Linked DNA regions of Homo sapiens: region 1 is linked to region 2. The links are contacts of gene promoters, found by promoter capture Hi-C in human tissues and cell types (Jung and others, 2019). All regions are on one chromosome and are shown on one strand. Each heading gives the region's core, a stretch centred on a gene start or on the middle of the fragment in contact. The rest is flanking DNA. Distances are from core to core; before and after follow the strand shown.

Region 1 (2,862 bases), core at 117-2,616, 1.2 Mb before region 2:
TAGGGAGAAACCTGTTTAAAATTGGTGTCAATGGTGAGAGGTAGATAGGGAAGGAAGCAACTGCATACCCAGATCCTACTGCCTCTTTGTGTTGGGGGTGGCAGGAGGATCTGTGGACCAATGATGCTCATGTGAGGTGCAAACCTTTCTTAGGACCATTGGTTAATCCACCTCCTTCTCCTGACTGAAGCCTCTCTGAGTCACAAAGTTCAGAGCTGGTTTTCTAAGCTGCAGGAATGGCTCTGGCTAAGGAATATTATAAAAACCAGAGTAAATCAGACCATTGAAATATGAAACAAGGCAAGTGTAGTGCAGATGTCTCCATTCATTGTGTCCATCTTATACTCAGTATTGATCGTCACAGCTAGATCTAACAGCAGTGTGTGCCATCATTTAGACACGTCCAAAAGGAATAGATGAGCTATGCCAAACCTATTCATTTCACATGTGTAGACATGGTCTGGGTTTTTTGTTTGTTTATGTTAAAGTTCTGTTATAAATCTGAATAGTGATTTTGATTAAACCATTATTTTGAGTGTCTTATATAAAAGAGAATCAGTTTTTGATTATTTTAGAAGTTTATTTTAACATCCAGGAGCCTACATAAGAAGCCCCTTCCCCAAATCTCCCTCAAGTCACTTTCCATTGCCTCCTTTCTCTGTCCTCATTGAACTTCATACTATCCCCCTCCTCCATATTCCACGTCTCTGCCTTGCTTTTTCAAAAATGTTCTCCCATAGTCTTGTTGGTAATTCATGGGCCTTTTAGGGTAGGGATGAAAGTGCCTATTTCAAGATTTAATCTCTTTTAAAAACCTTCCTCTAATCTGTTCTAATTTTATCATCTATGTGTTTTTGTTTTGTTTTGTTTTGTTGCTTTATATGTATGGTAAATAATATAGTGCTGAGTAACTGCTTTCAGATCTTCCATATGTGAGCTTTGTTCTACTCAAGTGGTTTGTAGGAGGCAGTGTGGTATCAGAAATAAAGAACTGGGCAGGGAATTTGAGACACTAAAATGCTACTCCTTGTGTTTCCACTAACTCTGCACCCAAGAGTGAGAGACATTGCCTCCTTGGGCATCAACTTTTCAGTTTGTAAAGTGAGGTAACACATTATCCCTAATGTCTCTTTCAGCTAGAATTCTTTGATTTCTCTAAATTCTTAAAGAACTCCTATCCAGTATATCAACACAATGGTAGAGATCTTGGATTCTGGAACCAGACTGCATGACTTGCTTCCCATTCTGCCACTTACTGCTTGGGAATTCTGAACAATTCCTTGTCTATGTACCTCAATTTTCTCCTCTGTAAAATGAGAATTGTAGTGGCAGCTTTCTCATAGGTTTGTTGTGAGGACCAAATGAGTTAGTAAATATAAAGAGCATAGAACAGTTGCTGACATATACACAGTAGGCATTCAATAAATGTCAACTAGTCTCATTATTATTACAAACACAAGGGTTTTAAAACATTTCAGAAAGTGTGTGTGTTTCTTATCAAATGGATATGCTGCTCCATGAGAGAAACATTTGTGGACACACATTCATCTATTCATTTGTTCTTTCATTCAGCAAAAAAAATTATTGCATGCCTAATATTTGCCAGGCACTGTTGTGTTACAGACATCAATGAGCAGAATGGCAGATACACATTAAATCTTTTAAACCAGTGGGAAAAAACATCCATGTTACTCTAGTGACCTAAGAGAGTTACTTAGTGCCTTATTTTCATGTATTCCAACACCAGTGGCAAGTTATATATGTAATCGTTGACTCTAATTTTAATTAATATTATATATTTTACATTAATTTTCTACAATCTGTTTCTTAAATATCTTTTTCTTTTAAATTTTCTGCTTCCTCCTTTGCACATTTTTTTCTTTTTAACAACTCAGACCATCTCCTGATCTCTCAACTTTGTTTTTATTCCTTTTGTTGAGTTCTATCTTCTGACACTTCCTTAGGTTAGTCTCTATAAGCCTCTTTTCTATTCTCACCTATAAAATTAGGATAATCAATTTACTTACCAGAATTTTAAATTAGATAATGTTTGTAATGTACTTAGCACAGTTCCTAGTACATAATATACCTCAATAAATATTGGCTATTTTTATGATGGTGGTGTTTTATATCAACTGAACCATGATTCTAAAGCAAGAAATACTACAAGCTCCTATGTATAATATTCAGGCCATAGGAACTTTGGCTGACCATTGGATAATGTGAAATGATCCTCTTGACATTTTAAGAGAGCTGTGTATCTTGTGTGTAATGTTTGCAGTGCTACTAATAATTGGCTGCTCCATGTGTTCTCAGGGAAAATAAAACTGCAACCTCAGATTGTAGCTGTGTGCCCATGGTGGAGGCATGCAGGCCAAAGTGAGCTCTGTTAGGTCTTACTTTCACTGTGAAAGCTTATGTCTTTATACTCTAGTCTTCAAAAAATAAATTTTGATTTAGTTTCCTTTTGCTTCCTCCTTGGTCTAATATATACTCTGCAAATAAGCATTTTTAAGAAACTTCTTTAGAAAATTATTTATTGCCTGTTAAATCTAAAACTTAGAAGATGTTTACATGAAAATCTTTTGGAAAATGATAGAAAGTTCCCACATCTCTGTTGCCCTGGGCTCTAATTAAATTTCAAATTGTTTTTGTCACTCTTAACCTGGATAGAAAAAGCCAAATTAATGTAATACAGTTCTATGAGTTTACATTGCCTGAAGGTTTGCTTTTTCAGTTAAAAACAAAAAAGAGAAGTCATGAGTTTGAATGCTGTTTTTCATCTTTAACATATATCACTATATTAGTTCTAATCAGCAATGTACATATTATTCCACTTTTGTGTTCTTATATTTTTCTGTC
Region 2 (2,828 bases), core at 288-2,787:
CGCTCTTGTTGCCCAGGCTGGAATGCAATGTTGGGATCTCGGCTCACCGCAACCTCTGCCTCCTGGGTTCAAGCTATTCTCCTGCCTCAGCCTCCCGAGTAGCTGGGAGTAGCCTCCCGAGTAGCATGTGCCACCACGCCCGACTAATTTTGTATTTTTAGTAGAGACGGGGTTTCTCCATGTTGGTCAGGCTGGTCTCGAACTCCTGACCTCAGGTGACCGGGCTGCCTCGGCCTCCCAAAGTGCTGGGATTACAGGCGTGAGCCACCACGCCCAGCTGAAACTATACTTTTCTAAACCTGATTTCAAAGTGTTTCTTCGCTACAACAAGTAAATTTGAGGCAGGGACATTTTTTCATTTAGGTAACGATAACGTTTGTATTCTCTAAAAGCAGCATAATTTGAGATACAATATTTAAACATTAAGAAATCAAAGACGCTCCAAGGAAAGTGAATACATGACTGATTGCTTGCACTGAAAATACTGAAAAGTGTCTAACGTAGTTTTTAAAAAATTTTTGTCGTTGGACTCTCACCACCTGGCCTGCCTTGCCCCCCATTCCAAGGTATTTGACTACATGTCTAAACCTATAGTAATGCTCCCTTTTCTTCTCCCTCTCCTCCACCATAGCCTAAAAGACTGAATTAGTTCCTATGATTAACCATGTATTTAAATAAGGACACCAGATGTTGTATCTTAGCAAAATAAAATTTTGGTGCAACAGAAGCATGCTGGATAAATTCTGGGTTCTAAAGCATAATTTAACTTTGTCAATTCCCTGCCATTCAACGTCGGAGGGTGGGAAGTTGAGCTGAAGCCTCGAGCACTGGTGGAAGCCATGGCCAGTCCAGTCAGCATGTTATCAAGCAATTTACAAGATGAATTTTTTAAGGGGGAAAAAAAAACCCTAACGTCTTCCGACAGTGACATGTCTCTGTGATGGGGTGCTCAGCTACAGTGACAGGGTGAACAAAAATGTCTTTGGCAAAGCCTTCATCTTGCCGTAGTACGTGAGCTGTACTACTAATAGCAATCAGCAGTCCACGGTTGATTTATGGACAGAGTGTGTCGTCCCGCACCGTGCCAGTTCCCGGAGCCTCAGCCAATTAGCTCTATTTTCTGCTTAAGCCGTTAAAGCCACCTCCATGGAAACACCAGGAGAGCAGGCCGGGGGGAAGGGAGCAGACAGGTGCGCCCTCTGGAAAGAAATACACAAAGGGCCGACACTGCGCCGCCGTGTCCCTGGCAACTCCACGCCAGCCCGGCGCGCGCGATTCCCGCGGCGCAGCGGCAGGGTTGGCGGGTGGCGCGCGCAGGTCGCCCCACATCGGCCGGCGGAGCCCCTCGGCCTGCTCGCGGACGCGGCGCCAGTGCAGCGCGAAGCCGGCTTGGGGCGGTGGCGGTGGCGGCGGCGCGCCCGCGCTGTAGGGACTTGTAGTCCGCGCGCCTCCCGGGCACCTCCCCCGGGTAGGCCGGCCAGCGCGTCCCCGCCCGCCGCAAGCCGACTTCCTGCGGCTGCCAAGACTACATCTCCCGCCGTCCTCTCCGCTGTCGGGCCGAAAGCGAAAACAAATTCTGGGCTGCGAGGTGCTGTTCTCTCCCGGGCGCCCCCACCCGCTCCCTGCCCCTCCGGCGCCCTCCAGCGAGGTGGGGAAACGAAAGGCCGCGTCTTTCTTTTTGGTTTCCTCGGCTCCCGGCGTGGGGAGTGCGCGGGGGCGCAGGCCCCGCTTCACCTGAGCCGGCCCAGCGTGCGCGCCAGGGGCGGGGGTTTTCTCGCTTCACACCGGTACGGAGGAGGAAACTTGTGGGGGCGGCGACCCCCGGCCTGGGTCCTGAGTCAGGCAGCGAGGCCGTCGGGAAGTGACTACTCACTCTCGGGGTTTTCCTTAATCCCGCTCCCCCCGTTTGTCGTGGGCGCGTGTTCGCTCCGAGGAGGCGGCCGCGTGCGGACAGCCATGCATTAGGCAGGGCTTCCCTATGCGCCCGGAGAGCGCGGACCGCTGCCTCGGGCCGCCGCCGCCTGCCGCCGCTCGCGGAGCCCGAGCCCCAGCCCGAGCCGCCGCCTGCCCCAGGCCGGGGCGTCGAGCAGCCGGCGGCCTGGCCATGTGGGGCTAGCCCTCGCCGCGCCTGGCCTGCAGCAGGACCAGCAACATGGAGGCTGCCGTCGGCGTCCCCGACGGCGGGGACCAGGGCGGCGCGGGGCCCCGCGAGGACGCGACGCCCATGGACGCCTATCTGCGGAAACTGGGCTTGTATCGGAAACTGGTCGCCAAGGACGGGTCGTGCCTGTTCCGGGCCGTGGCGGAGCAGGTAATTGCGGGGGGGCGGGGAGGGCTTCGAGGGGAGGCGGGGACGGCCCGGCGGGTCTGGGTGGGGAGGCAGCTGCGGGCTGTCCGGGCCGCCCACGGCCGGGGCTGCGCGTGCCCTGGCTGTCGTCACAGCGCCCCATTGTAACGCCGGAGTGGGACGCTGCTTTGCGTCTGAAAGGTGCAAATTGAAACTCGAAAGCCCGCAAATTAACGGGGTGTCTCTCTCCTGATGAAGAGGTAATGAGTTGAGGACAACTTGTGAGGCCTGCTCGGAGCTTGTACAGTTGATTTATTGCTGGGGACCTGGCGACATGATATTTTTTACTTTTGTTCCGCATTCACCTTCCTTCCCTTCGTTTGAGAAGCACCACGCTCACCCCACTCCAGTAAACCAAGTGTTTACTAGAAGTGGTGGATCAAACTTTACTTGTGGAACATATTTTGGTTTGCTGCTGGACTTTGGAATGTAGGGTAGGCAAGCTCGCCCATGTCACTTGAATCAAATGGGCAAACTGCCG

The links. Contacts are between HindIII fragments. The study calls those that stand out against the background at their distance.
Region 1: a contact is called between a fragment that was not itself captured here and the fragment with the promoter of OTUD4 in region 2, in 1 of the 25 tissues and cell types used here (heart left ventricle).

What each region holds. Positions count from the first base shown.
Region 1 is chr4:146,336,827-146,339,688 of GRCh38, reverse strand. All of the region lies in intron 5 of SLC10A7 (solute carrier family 10 member 7), which reads left to right. Among named protein-coding and RNA genes, the nearest start is that of MIR7849, 70 kb to the left of the region's middle. The HindIII fragment of the contact is 6,347 bases long and covers 1-2,862 here.
Region 2 is chr4:145,179,298-145,182,125 of GRCh38, reverse strand. It overlaps OTUD4 (OTU deubiquitinase 4), which reads left to right and starts at 1,537. Exons shown (of 21, transcript NM_001366057.1): 1 at 1,537-2,311. The coding sequence starts at 2,153. RefSeq lists silencers at 1,131-1,530, 1,621-1,850, 1,971-2,430 and enhancers at 776-1,605, 1,606-2,435. The HindIII fragment of the contact is 5,371 bases long and covers 1-2,828 here.